2 separate regions of the Homo sapiens genome follow, and region 1 is linked to region 2. Evidence: promoter capture Hi-C in human tissues and cell types (Jung and others, 2019). All regions are on one chromosome and are shown on one strand. Each heading gives the region's core, a stretch centred on a gene start or on the middle of the fragment in contact. The rest is flanking DNA. Distances are from core to core; before and after follow the strand shown. Region 1 overlaps POLA2 (DNA polymerase alpha 2, accessory subunit). Region 2 holds the start of NRXN2 (neurexin 2).

The links. The method cuts DNA at HindIII sites, captures the fragments that hold promoters and counts their contacts. A contact is called where the count stands out against the background at its distance.
Region 1: a contact is called between a fragment that was not itself captured here and the fragment with the promoter of NRXN2 in region 2, in 4 of the 25 tissues and cell types used here (dorsolateral prefrontal cortex, lymphoblastoid cells, pancreas and 1 more).

What each region holds. Positions count from the first base shown.
Region 1 is chr11:65,275,126-65,282,857 of GRCh38, forward strand. It overlaps POLA2 (DNA polymerase alpha 2, accessory subunit), which reads left to right. Exons shown (of 18, transcript NM_002689.4): 5 at 767-873; 6 at 3,605-3,798; 7 at 4,413-4,501; 8 at 5,867-6,022; 9 at 6,545-6,607; 10 at 7,354-7,396. Among named protein-coding and RNA genes, the nearest start is that of POLA2, 17 kb to the left of the region's middle. RefSeq lists an enhancer at 4,145-5,344. The HindIII fragment of the contact is 6,666 bases long and covers 3,150-7,732 here.
Region 2 is chr11:64,719,145-64,725,967 of GRCh38, forward strand. NRXN2 (neurexin 2) reads right to left here and starts at 4,053. Exons shown (of 23, transcript NM_015080.4): 1 at 3,827-4,053. RefSeq lists silencers at 3,933-4,227, 4,214-4,513 and enhancers at 4,894-4,943, 6,153-6,823. The HindIII fragment of the contact is 11,757 bases long and covers 1,870-6,823 here.

The DNA.
Region 1 (7,732 bases), core at 5,233-7,732, 560 kb after region 2:
ATTCTGTCCTGCAGTTGCCACCAGCTGACCACTCTGCAATATAACTTCTTAAACTTGCAGCCAGGAGGAGCCCTAGGGCAGGGAAAGCTGCAGACTAGCTGGCTTCCTGGCTGCTATCCAGGCAAGGATTTTGTTTTCTCTATTACAGTCGATTATCCTAGACTTTAGGGAGCAATAGGTCTCTGGACTGTAGGTTTCAGCCTCCGTTCTGGGCTTATCTTTGGATTCTTGTTGATGAGTCAAAAAAAAAAAAAAAAAAAAGGAGTGACCATCAGATGTTTGCTAACTCTTCAAGTATGAGCTCAACCTTGTTATCTGCCTGGAGTCATTTCCTTTGAAAATGTATGGTAGACTTTGCCAAAGTAAGTAGTAATGTCCCATTCCTTCTCAGGAAAATGTGTACACATAGATCAAAACTATGCATTGTAAAACTCATATCTGTTTGAAAACATAGAGGTAGGGACAGAAAGTAAACATATGAAGGATTTGACAGGACACATTACCAGCCTGGTGGTCCTTTTTGGAAAATGTTTGCTTTCTCGTAATTGCCTTCAAAATAGGGACAGTGTCCTGAATGTTGGTTACAGTTGTTGAAGATTTCTTTTTGAGATTATGCTTGGATGATGGGGCCTTAAGAAGAGAACCCACCCAGTCCTATTTTGTGCCTTCGTTTGGACATGTTCTCCCTTTTCTTCCAAGGTACTATACACTTAATTAGTATTGGGTCTAGTAGGACTGAGATTTTGTTTTCCTTTTTTTTCCCTAGGGTTCTCAGAAGCGAGCTATCTCTACCCCAGAAACCCCCCTAACAAAAAGGAGTGTGTCAACTCGTAGCCCCCATCAGCTACTCTCACCGTCAAGTTTCTCTCCAAGGTATGGATCATAATTCATTCAAGTGCCATAAAGCTGGCCTCCCCTCCCCTTTCTCTGGCTATCTGAGGAAGGCTAACAGCAGAGTTATTAATTAACTATAGGTGGGCATGTACCTCTGCAGTGAATTGGCTTGAAAGCCTATTGCTCTCTGCCTTCCTTGCTCTCCTTTTCTTTGTGGAAAATTACTGTTTCTTACGGTAATTAAGGAAACTCACTTTCCACCCACTTTTCTAGGGCTCATTTCCTAGATCGGGAACTGATATCTTGTATTGAAAACAACCTGTCTATTCAGAAGTCTAAGAGTCTTAACAGGTCTTGTCAGTAGAGGCAAGTAGGTTTCCACCTGCTTCTGTTTGTGTTTTGTTGGGTTTCTTTTTCTTTCTTTTCATCTAAAGTTTTTTTTTTTAAAGAAAAGCACATATCTTTGTTCATAATGTTTCATAACCTGTTTATTGTTTCCAAGTCAGGTTAGAACTAGTTTCTGAGAGTTTTCTTGTCACTGTGACTCTGCCCTGACTTAATTGGTATTTTGTCCCTCTGCCACCATTGCACATAAATCCACAAAGATCATATGTAATTTTTTGAAATCCATAAATGACACGTCTCATATTAGAGAATTCCATAGGCAAGTGCTCTGCTGAGTAGATGGGTTTTTAGGAGTTTCCACATCAAGATGAGGCTCCGGAGCAGTAGTATTAACCCTTCAGGGAAACACCAACTGCCAGGAGTCATTACCTCTACTTTGGATCACTTCTAGATGAACCAGAGCTTAAGATTGTTCAACTCTATCACTTTTTTTTTTTTTTTTTTTGAGATGGACTCTCACTCTGTCACCCAGGCTGGAGTGCAGTGGCACCATCTTGGCTTACTGAAGCCTCTGCCTCCCGGTTCAAGCGATTCTCCTGCCTCAGCTTCCCGAGTAGCTGGGTCTACAGGCGCTCGCCACCATGCCTGGCTAATTTTTGTATTTTTAGTAGAGACGAGGTTTCGCCTGTTGGCCAGGCTGATCTTGCACTCCTGACCTCAGGTGATCCACCCGCCTTGGCCTCCCAAAGTGTAGGATGTCAAGCATGTGCCACTGCTCTCGGCCTTTTCAGCTCTATCACTTTAGAAAGGTGGTGATAGAAGCTCTGCAGTCATTCAAGGTGAGTGGTCATTGGATTTTTTTTTTCTTTTCTTTCTTTTTTTTTTTTTTTTAAGATAGGCTTTTACTCTGTTGCCCAGGCTGGAGTGCAGTGGCACAACTATAGCTCACTGTAGCCTTGGCCTTCCAGGCTCAGGTGATCCTCCTACCTCAGCCTCCTGAGTAGCTGGGACTACAGGTGTATGCTACCAAGCCCAGCTAATTTTTATAATTTTTGTAGAGATGGGGTTTTACCATGTTGCTCAAGCTGGTCTCGAACTCCTGGCCTCAAGCAATCTGCCTGCCTTAGCCTCCCAAAGTACTGGGATTACAGGCATGAGCCAGCATGCCTGGCAGTAATTGGATTTTGAAGGACAGTTTTACTTTAGGGTAGTCTACTGCTGCTTTGGGGAGTTCTCAGGCTTTTTGGAAGAAAGCTTTCTAGACTTAAGAGCATCTTTGCAACCTGGTATGTAGGGATGGTTCTTATAGACGTGCCAGCACCATTGCAGGAGTTATATTCTCCAAATGTCAATACAATGCTCTGAAACCTGTAGATCTGTTTACAACTGTCCTCATGTGAGCATCTTGCTGCATTAAAGGGCCTGCTGTAATGGATGGCTCATGGAGCTTCCCAGGGAAGAGCTTGGAGAAGCTGGCAAAATGCTGCCTAGTCATTTTTTAATGCACACTAATAAAGCTGACAGCAGAAACTGGTTTTGTAATGTATGAAAGTAACTTCTAAACTATTCACGTAGAGGTGGCACTGGAGATTGAGATAATTAATTGAGCTCATTTTCTGTAGGCTGTGAAAAGAAAGAATGATGGCATTAATTGCGATGGTGCCCCACATAAAACTGGTTCCCGCAGAGTTTCAGTGCATTAAACAAAGCCTGTTTTAAATAGACCTCTCTGTACGGCGTGTTTACAACCAGAGGATTAGAAGACCTCACTGTCATCTAAGCAGATCAGCAATATCCATGTGTTCTTAGAGGTATAATTTACCAGTCAGGGAGTGGAAATGTGAGAACTTGGCAGTTGAGCCTAGAAAAATGGGAATGTTTGCACATCACCAGACTGTTAATTCATTACTTACCCACCTCCATAGACACTGGGGAAAATTGATTAATTTGAATTTCATTTTATTGTTGTTTCTACCTTGAACCATATTGTGAGTTTTTATATATGCTCAGCAAGTTTTAGCTTATCCACAGTTGCAGGCTCAGATGATGTTCCAATAAATGCTAAAAATTCATGAGAAGAAAAAAATGGGACTTAAAGTTTGCCTTTTAATCAATTCAGAATCTGGGGATCTTTTTGCCTTGCTTAGTTTTAATGCCAAGAGAACGACAACTTTTTAAAATACGTTTCTGTCTCTAAACTTCTCTAAAAATGTTTGGTATTCCTCAGCCTGGTATTCCTCAGCCCTTCATTCCTGAAATTCCTTAAAGGTCTGGGTATGTCCAACCCCATTAAACTGATTCAATTTATAAACTATGAGGCCACCTTCCTTTTCTCCAGTCCCCATTTCCAAAGGTAACCTCATTTTATTCTTCTCTCCCTTTAGATATGAACACAGTAATATTAACCTGTTTTGCTTCCAATTAGTGCTACTCCCTCCCAGAAATACAACTCACGAAGTAACCGAGGAGAAGTGGTTACCTCCTTCGGCTTAGCACAGGGAGTATCTTGGTCTGGGAGAGGAGGAGCTGGAAACATCAGCCTGAAGGTCTTGGGATGTCCAGAGGCACTAACTGGGAGCTACAAATCCATGTTTCAGAAGCTCCCAGACATTCGAGAAGGTGATTGTTTTTCCCTTTGAAATTCTGGTGGATATAAAACCACCTAGAAGGGTGTAGAGTAACAAAGCTTCAGCTAGGCTGGTAGAACAAGTTCCAAGGTTGCCTTTCAATGTATGAGTTGGTAGATGTCCTCATGGAAGCCCTAGTAATGGAGGGACACGGGCAATACTATCAGTGATTGCCCCAAGTCACTTCACTTTGCTAAAACGCACATAACCATTCCCAGCAGCAAAAACTTGAACGATGTAAAGGAATTCAACTTAAAGATATTCATGGTTCCTTCGTTAGAAGCCTTCTTCAGGTTGGCCTTGACTTGCCTAAAACCTCAGTGAGGACTTGAGTAAAGGGCAGACTTGGAGATGGGGTGGGGTTCATGCTGATTCCCTGGAATTGTGCTATGGGGTCTCCTGTGGCCAGATGGAAGGCCAGATTCAGCAACCAAATATCGGAAAATTGGCAAAGGTTTTAGAAGGTTTAAACTGGCCAGATGTCCAGGCACCCTTCCTGCTTCTGTAAAATGACTGACTTTAATATTTTACAATGTGCTGTATTTTCTCTTCTTGGCAAGTGAAATGTCTTAAACATAATACTTTTTTCCACTTCTGGGATTGTAGTTCTGACCTGTAAGATAGAAGAACTTGGCAGCGAACTCAAGGAACATTACAAGATTGAAGCTTTCACTCCTTTGCTAGCCCCAGCACAGGTAAGAGTTGTTCTAATAGTTCTCACTAATTAATATTACGTTTTTAAATCGATGACCAAGAGGCATCCTTCTTGCTTCCTTTTTCACTTCTTGTCTGTGTTCTAGTTTGAACATCTGTCTTGGTTGAATTTGGGAAAATGGGCCCTTCTGAAGAAAGATTTGTAAGTGCTGTCTGGTTTTGTGGCCAGAGAGTGATTTTCTTCCCACTTGGATTAGAGTCTTGCACATAAGCAGAGACTCAAGGCCTTGTTTCCCTTGGTGGTGAGTCAGGTAGCTCCCCGGGGATTTCCCACAAATAGAAGCATTCACGTATCGAGATAAAAGGACAGCAGCGACGGTGGGGTTTTCAGAATCTTGTTCTCTGGACAATGACTCACAGTCTCTCCCCTGGTTTGGTCTCTTGTTATAGACAAACTGCTGCCAATAGTATCTTTATATCATAGTTTAATCTGGCATATATACCAGTGCTTTCTCTCTAGAATGTTTTCTAATCTAAGGGGAAATATATTCTAGAAGTTTCTTTAAAGTACCTTTGTCAATGTTTACATTCAAAGAATGATCAGTTGGGGAAGTGATGCAGAACTGTGTCATAGAAGGAAGTGTTAGAGGACTTGGAAGGAAGTAATTGAGGGAAGGCAGGGAGGCACAATCACTGGGAAAGATGAGACTTCCTCTGTTTTCTCCCAAGAGTGGGAACAGAACAGAGGAAGCCATGGAGACAGAGATTTTAGCTCAATTAATAAAGAACTTCCTGTTAAGAGGTTGTATGGTATGTGGCTAAGGATATGGCTCTAGAGCCAAATTTCTGGTTTCAAACCCAAGCTTCACCCACAGTTTGACCTTGACTAAATTATCTAACCTTTCTGTTGCTTGTTTTCCTCATCTGTAAAATGGATACAGTAATATCCACCCGATGGTTGTTGCAAGGATTAAATGAGTTAATACATATAAAATGCCTAAGAATACATTTTAGAACAGTGCATGGTATTTAGTAAGCTCAAGAAATGTTAGCTATTATTAAGTAGTTATAGCTGCCCAAAGATGCAGTGGGCTGCCCTGGGGTGGTGAGGACAGGGTGGGGTAGGCATCCAGGGGCAAGTTCCCCTACACTAGAGATGCTCACACTTAGGCAGCCTCCTAGGAAGGCTCAAGTGCTGGGTGGATGGGTGGACAAGATGCCCTTTCAGAGTTCTTCCATCCTGAGAGTCAGTGATGACGCGGTAGTCACCTCAGGGTCAAAGCAATGCCCTGCCAAGAAATGTATTTGTTGTTTGCAGTTTGTTTTGCTATTCACCCTATCGACTTCAGATTTTGAGCTCCTGCTCCAAAGACTGTCATTCTTATGCTGTGACCTTCCTTTGGTAGGAGCCTGTCACTCTGCTGGGCCAGATTGGCTGTGATAGCAACGGGAAGCTGAACAACAAGTCAGTGATTCTCGAGGGAGACCGGGAACATTCCTCGGGTGCTCAAATTCCAGTGGATTTATCTGAGCTTAAGGAATATTCTCTGTTTCCTGGACAGGTGAGATTGGAGGAGTTCCACCAGAATGCAGGCGCACTCTTTACCCCTGTAGTGTAGGTGCTGTGCCATGCGCAGCTGCTCCTCAGTTCCTGTCTCTGCTGCCATGGGGTGCAGCTGGAGCACATGCCCCAGAGCAGACACCACTGTTGGGATTCCTGTTTCCCCCATGCTCTGACCCAGGCTCTGGGACCTGACTGCGCAGCCTCAAATCCCAACTCCCCGCTCCATGAGGTGCATGACTGTGCACAAGGTACTTAACCATCTAAACTACAGTTTCTTCACTCACAAAATGGAAATAATAATTCTTACCTCATAGGATTGTTGTGAAAATTAGATCACTTATATAGAGCATAATTATTATTACTAATGCAACGCCCTTAATTCGTTTTCTACAAAAATGCCCTAAGTTTATGATTACAGAATGAGAGTAGTTGGACAATGCTTTTAACTGCCTCAAAATAATGTATTCCAGACCTCATTGATCTCCACTGCTTAGCAATCCTGTTTGTTTTTGTCTTTCAGGTTGTAATTATGGAAGGAATCAACACCACTGGTAGGAAACTTGTTGCCACCAAACTCTACGAGGTACACAGCAGTACCCCCACTTGCCTCTTGGTTTGCTTCAGACAAAGTATGTCTGGAAGCTGTCTGTTCTAGAAACTGGTCCTTTTTAGGAGCCCATTTATTTGTTAGTCAGTTCTCCATCTGTAAGTGGGAACCCACCCCTAGGCCAGGGGTCAGCAAACCCTTTCTATAAAGGGCCAGACAGTAACTCTTTTAGACTTTGTAGCTATATGGTCTCTGTCACAATGACTCAATTCTGCCTTTGTCTACAAAAGCAGCCATAGAGGACTCTTAAACAGATGACTGTGGCTGTGTTCCCATAAAACTTTATTTAAATAGTGGGCTGCAGCCAAATTTGGCCCAGAGGCCGAAAGGTTACCTATCCCTGCTCTAGGCAACAATCCTCCAGAGATTTTCGTAGAATGCCAGGAAAAGTAGCAAGAAACCATTCTCTCCCATCCTTGCCTAGAAGTACACTGATACTTTAGGCACCTGTTTTGCTCCCACTTGTTGCTGGGTATTTTATGACAATTGAGTAGTGACCTCCCATTACCTGGGTTTCTTTGCCCTCTGAGCAGTATAGAAAAATGGCAGGTCCCATCAGATCCAGGGAGCAAGACAGAGGCACATCCTTCCCCTGCCCTCTCGCTCCTCCCCACTGTCCTCCCATCACACACCTGCACCACCCCCAACCTGGTGCCCTCCCCTTTCCTTACCAAGGTGATGCCTGGCGCAAGACCTTACTTGAGCTTTTCCCCTGTTTTTAGGGTGTGCCACTTCCATTTTATCAGCCCACTGAAGAGGATGCAGGTGAGTTTCGGTTCAAATATTGTTTTGCCAACAATGAGGATGGTAGACATGAGTCCAGGAGTGCAGTTTCCCAAGCCCAAGAAAGCTGCAGAAGCTGCTGAAGAGCAATGTGACCAAGCAGTGAGGGCGCCACCATCATGAGTTCGTAGGTTTTTTGTCACAAGACCCCTGGTCTGAGCCCAGTGAGCGTTGGTCGTGCTGTCGCCTGAGTTCTGCCTACATGAAGCATGTTGTTTAAAGACTAATGTTTAACAGGTATTTTTGAAGGTTGCCTTGGAAAGGAAAAGATGTACGATTTCAAAAAGAATTTATTTACATGCAGCATGGGCAGATGCG
Region 2 (6,823 bases), core at 2,803-5,302:
CTCATCTCGGCCTTTTACAGTTTGCAGTACCGAGTGCCTAGTGTTTCCTCTGATCCTCACCAGGGCTTGGTGAGAAAAGTAAGCAAGACAAGTATTATCACTGCCCCTTTTACAGATGAGGAAATAGATACTCAAAGGGGAGAAGGGACCCACCCAAGGTCCCACAAATCATAAATGGCAGAGCTGGGATTCAGATTTGGTTCTGTCTAATCCCTATCCCTCGTGTCCTCCTCAACTCTGCTGGTCAATTGTCCTGACTCAGAGGGCAGTAGAAGGAACAAACAGGTCTAAAGATAAGTCGGAGTCCCATGCCAGGGTGGGCTGGGCATGAGCGGCCATGTCTGCAGGTCGCCAAGCAGCTCTCTGTGTCATGGAGAGAAGCATGGAGCGGGCTGGGCCCAGGAGCTGGTAGCTCGGGGTGCACAGGATGAGGCTGCTGCCGCCTCATGGAGCTGGGGAAGCGGGTGGGCTGGGGACAGAGGTGCAATGGAATGACTTGGTGGAGTGGGGGCCGGAGGACAGGTGCATGGGAGCATGGAGGTAGGTGGTGGGAGGGATGAGCACCAAGCTTACCTATGCTGTGCACAGCTGGGGCACAGCAGCCTGGGCGGGTGCACCCCAGTGATGCAGAGGGGGACAGATGGCTTCCAGGGGCGGCCTTGTGAGTAAGCATGAGGTGCCTGGGAATGTTCCTAAAGGTATCTATGACAGGTGTGTGCGCGTGTGTGTGCGTGCAGGGAAGGTTATGATAATGACAATAAAAATAGCTACCATTTACGGGGACCTTCTATGTGTCTTACAAATACCTCAAAGTAAGGTTTACAGAGTGCTTCGCACAAGGCCAGGCACACAGTAGGTACACAATAAACATGCTTGTTACTACTATCATTGCCATCATTGTCCTCTCAGTGAGTCCTCATAACATCCCACTAGGTAGGGATGAGGATCCCATTTCACACGTGAGGAAACTGAGGCTCACTGAGGAGCACAGCGGAGTCCCACCTTCACCCTCACCCCACCATGCCAAACAGTGGTGGTGGCAGTGGGGAAGCAGCTTCGTAAATAACAAGGTGCCACACACATCCTTGAAAGTGTGCACCAGACTATTTGTTGAATGAGTCTCCGAGAGCCCACAGGCCCATCAGTGTGGAAGGGGCAGGGGCGAGGGAGCTGCACCAACAGATGGAGCAGCAAGGTGGGTGGCGTGTGAGGACACACAATCGGGGCATCCCCGTGGGGGCTGGGCTTGGGAGCTGCGAATGAAAGGACAGTGTCTCCAGTGCACAGGCAGGTGTAGGGGCCCTTGTGCCTGAGGATTAATGCGGGGGGTGGGGCCACTTAGAAATGGGAAGGCTCCCAGGGAAACCAGGTGTAGGTGGGGGCTGGACTCCACTGGGAAGGGTCGTGGTTGTGGCCAGGAGGGGTAGGAGGCCCTGCGCCGAAGGTACAAAGATAAGTGAGTGAGAGAGAGAGAAAGTAGAAGAGAGGTTTAGGGGGTGAGCCACAGCATTAAGTGTGTTAGCAAACATGTGCTGGTGTGCACACACACGTGCACACACACAAAGGCCTGGGGCAAGGTGTTCAGCACCCAGACAGACATGCACATGGTACTTCAGGATGAGCTTGCTGGGGGGCAGGGACTGGTGTGTCTGGGAGGGTGTGCCCACATGCTGTGTAGACCTGGGAGGGATGGGGTGTCTGGAAGGAGAGGGTGTGTTGCAAGGACTGAAGGTGTATGAGGAAGAAGCACAGGTGTGCCTGCGATGGCTGTGAGCCTGGGGAGGTGAGTGGTTGGATGGGGGCTGTGTGCATCCAAGGGTGAGGGCTGGCAGTGCTGCGCTGGGGGCTCTGGGGGCACGTAGTGGCCGTGTGTGTGTTGTGTACATGGCAGCAAGGCACCTGGGGGAGGTCTCAAGGAGGCAGGCATGAGGTGGCAGCCTCTCTGGGTGGGGAGTGTGGGCTGTATGCTGCCAGGAGGTGTATTGTGTACGCAGGTGTGTGTGCCTGTGTAGGTGTGTGTCTGGGTGGGTGCCACCGAGCGCGTGTATCATTGTCAGAGTGTCTGTGTCACTGGCAAGGGTAAGCGGGAGGGAGCAGCTGGACCTGGGTAGTGACTGAGCCTGGAAGGAAAGAGGGGTCCCCACCAGCCACTCGCGCACCCAGCCCCTCCTCTCAGAACTCCAATGTCATATGGATTCAGCCCAGGCCTGGGCTGGAAAGAACTGCCCGGCAGCCGTGGCTGGTTGGTCCATCCCGCCCACCCCTGTGGATCTGAGGATAGGATGGGTCTGAGAACACTTCCTCTAGCATGAATGAAGAGCCCCCAGCCAGACCCTTCTCCCCTGTCTCCCAAAAGATCCAGCCACACCTCAGATGCCAGCATCCCTAGAGCCATCCCTGGAAGCAAGAGGAGGTAGGGACTGAGGGGCTGAAGCACCCACAAAACAGAAGGCCTCACAGTTAGCAGACTGCAGACCTCCCTCCCCTTCTCCTTCCCTCTCCCTTCTTTCTTTCTCCTTCTCTGGCAGAAGACAGAGAAAGTAAGACCCTAATGTCCACCCTCCTCCAAAAGGAACACCCAGACACTGGGAAGGTAGACAACAGGGAAGGATAAGAATGAATGGAAGAGGAGAGACGCCCACCCGCCAACACATGAAAAAACAGGGCTATCTGGAAGCCCCCAGGGCAGCCAAGGGACTGGGGACCCAAGACCCACCCCCTAAAAATCTATTTCATTATTCCAGGTGGACAGCCTCCTCCTTCACCTCCAGACACCAAGAAAAAGCCCCTCCCAGCCCTTGCTAGCTCAATGAGGCATCGAATGCCCTCTCCCAAGATTCAGGAGGGGGGTGAGAGTAAAGGAGACAACAGCACCCCAAAGCCAATTGTGCCCCAAAAGCCCATCAAGGGTTCAAGGGCTCATACCCCAACCCAAAGACCCCAGGGAAGATTGCTGCTTCAGCTGGGGGAGGAGGCTGGGACATGAGAAATGGTCCCTTCCTCTTTAGGGGTGGGGGAGCAAGCCAAGGGCCCTGCAGCTTCCTCTCCCCCTGCAGCACTCTCTGACCAGAACCCTGTCACCGCCCCCAGCGCATTCCCACCCCAGCAAAGCCCCCTCCTACTGATTTCCCAGTCTCCCTGTCTCATCACCCCCAGCCTTCCCCCGCAAGCTTCCGCTCCTCTCCCTCAGACCCCATCTTTCCCAGCTCTCCACCAGCACAGACCCATCTCTGCCTGGAGCACCTTGGCACATTCCCCTCTGCTCTCTCCCAATAACCTCTTCTCCCCTTGGCTCCCATCCCCCAGGAAAGCCTGGTCCTCAGTGGGTCCCCTCAGGACGAAGCCCTTGGCCTGGCCCCTTTCCTTCCCTCTCCACTTCTCTCTCTTCTCCAGCCCCCTCTCCTCTCCTCCCACGAAGCCCAGTTTCTCGCTGGTTAGACCCTCCAGAACACAACAGCTCCTCTGGCCCGGCGCTGCTTCAAGCCTCTGGGGCTAGCACAGACTGGGGACCCCCCTTTAAGAACCCCCTCTAAGTCCTCTGGATGCCCCTCCTCTCTCCATCCCTTCCCCCAAAGACCCTTCCTCCCACCCCTCCCCATTCTCCTCAGCTCTCAGGGCCAGTGCCCCTTCCACAGGAGCCTCCGACCCCCAAGCCCCCAGCGGCTTTGCCTCCTCGCTGTCACCGGGCCAGCCCTCTCAGCGCGGCGCCCCCGCCCCCCAATTCATCCGTCCTGCCTCCCTCGCCCCCTCCGATCCGCTCCCCTCCCCCGATCGGCTCCCGCCCCCCGCCCGTCTCCGCCGCAGCGCCCCCCCCCCCCCATTTTACCTGGTTCTCGGGGCGCCAGAAGCTGGAGGGTGGGTAGCAGAGCTACAGGGCCGCCCCGTCTCCGACGGGTGGCAGAGCCAGGGCTAGCGGTGTCTGCCGCCTCGCGCCTCTCTCCCTCCCCGCCGCGTCCCCGCCCGCCCGCCCGCCCCGCCGCGGTGCCTCTCCGAGGAGGATGCTCCGCGAGTCAGGGCGGCTGCTCCCGCCGCCGCATCCCTGCAACACCGACTGACGGCAGCATCAGCACCAGTGCCCGCCCCCGAGACGCGCGCATTGGACCACGCTGCGCTGACGGGCGAGCAGCGCAGCCAATGCAAGGGCTCAGAAGCCGCCAGTCCAGCGGCTCCACAGGCCCACTCCCTCCCTCGCGCGGGACCCAGGCGTCCCGGCCCCAGCACCCGCGCTCCTCCCAGCCTCTCGAGGTTCTCGGGCGCCCGGGCCCCCAACCAGGCGGGCCCCAAACCCGGCCTCAGTGTCTTTTCCGGGAACCCAAGCACTCTCGCCCCTCGCCCCTCGCCCCTTAGTTCGGGGCCTTGGGTCCCGCACCCTCCCCCCACGGCCAGCAGGTCTTCGCGCAGCGCGGGGCTGGGACAAGCCGAAGGAGAGGCTGTGGACCCCGACTTGGGACGCCGCGAGAGCAGGGCTGATGCGGGGCCTGGGCCGCAGCGCCCTCTGCTGGCTACCCCCAGGGGCGGGCCCGGGCTTCGAGGAGCCTAGAGAAGGGGGACTCGGTGGGTCCATGGCTGCTGGGGGCTTTTTCCAGTCGGTAGCCTGGCCCCCACCTCCCACCGTCCGGAGGGCCCCTGGCTTGGAGCCCCCAGAACTGAAGAGGAAGGGGCTTTGCTGGGATAAAGACGGAGGCGGTGGGGGAAGGAAAGGCAGAGATGGGGGCGGGGTAGACCTAGGAACTTGGGGGTTTCCCAGTCCTGCCTCATGGGAATCCCAGAGTTTGAGGCCAAACTCTCAGTTCTGCCTGGAACCCTGGACCGAGGTACGAGTAGGTGTGGGGGCAGGGTTGCGCCTGCACATGCCTGGTGACTGAGGGCACCTGGCAGCAGCCCCCTTCTCTGTTCTCCTCCTCCCATCCATGAGTTTCAGTTAGAGTGGTGCTGGGGGGCGCAGGTCTCTCCTGTAAGGGTACATGCATCACTGTGCATGTGTATGAGTGTGGGGGACTGGGGGACACCCTTCACTCACTCCGCCAATAAAAGTGTACACACACTGGCACTTAGTGTGTATACCCCGAGGTTGGTCACTGGGCTGCTGAATGAGACAGTGAGAGACAGAGTGTGTGTGTGTATGTGTGCCAGACCATTCTGCCAGCTCACTCCAGGACCCTGGTTTCTGTTGCAGGGTCTGTGATCTGCACAGCTGGTGGTAGTTGGCACTTCCTTAGCCAGAGGCAACATGCAAGAACACTTACATTCAACCACCAATGCATGGACATTGGGGCACTCACAGCCATGCACACATATCTGTGAACACTGGGCATTCCCAGAGACACATAAGAACACCTGCAGAAATGCCCCACCATGGTAACACACCCACAGGAAGCATATACTGCCCAAGAACACACACACTTGTGCACACAGGTACCTACACCAGGCAATTAATGCATGCCCAGAACAGCTGCACCCAGGGGACCTGCCCACAGTCATCCTGGACCCCTGCCCAGGCACTTCAAAGAGAGTGGTCAATTACTGAGTGGCTTAATGCGGACACCAACCCCCCGGGTGGGAAACTCCTTCCCCAGCCTGTGAAGGGGTAAGAGGGGGACCCAGGCTGCAAGGAGTTTTTCCTAGGAGTCGAGAAGGGTGATCCCTAAGCCAGGTCCCAGACTTAGGGCCCACTCTGACCTTGGAGAGACCCCCAGGGCATCCCCACCAAAGCCAATGAAGGAGCCAGAGAATGGAACTGCTGCGTCAGGGCCTATGAATGCGAAATCGCCTCCCTGACCCCACAGCCCACTTTCCTGCCCATCCCCCACTGTTCCTCTTCCTGCAGCCTCCTCACACTCACACACACACACACACACACACACACCCCTTGTCCATCCAGGCATCAGGGCATAGACAGACAGATGCAATGGCTCACAGAGACAGACTCAGACCCTTACAGAGGAGCCTGGGCAGGGAGGGAGGTAAGTATGAGCACTTGTCTCCTTTCCCTACCCCCAGCTTTGCCCATCAAGGGCAGAAAAGGTCACCGGGCAGCTGCTGCATCTCCCTGTCCCTCCCACCTACAGGGACATCTCTCCTCTCTGCAAGGTCCAAGGTTCAGATTGCCTAAGCATTTGGGACCTGCCACTTCAAGACACACCCCACACACACACACACCACACACAGGTACCCACCCAATGTGGACAGTTGAGTGATATGCTGAGCACATGCCCTTCTCCCATGTGCAAAGGCCAGTGGGGACACATGGGGGAGGGGAAACACAGCAGATACAGCATGCATGTCCATGCACACACATGCACACAGGCGCATACAATGTGAAGCTCAGACACCAAATTCAGACACATGCAACCATGAAGACCGCTACTTGTCACATCCCGGGCAGGCAGACCTGGACACACATATGCATGCATGCATACACACACACACACACACACACACACACACACACACACACACCAGGAAGAGGCCAGACTGGAACTGGAGGGTAGTGACGAGAGGAGCCAAGAGGAACCGACTGGGCTGCAGGGATGGAGGCAGCACAGGAGGCAGGCGGCACAGGAGCGAGCTGCTCTTCACAACACAATCGCCGTCTGTTGTTATAGCAACTCAGCCCCCAAATCGTGAAACGGATATTACAGCCTCAAGAGGGGGAAGGGCGGAGGGGGCTGAGGACAGAAGGAGGGGCAGGGGGGCACCCGATGCAGAGACAGGGCTGGGGGGCCCAACACAGGGTAGGCCTGCAGGAGAGATATGACCAGGAAAGAGAAGGGAGTGACCCAAAATAAAGAACAGGCCAGGGGGAGTGGGGTCTCAAAGCAGG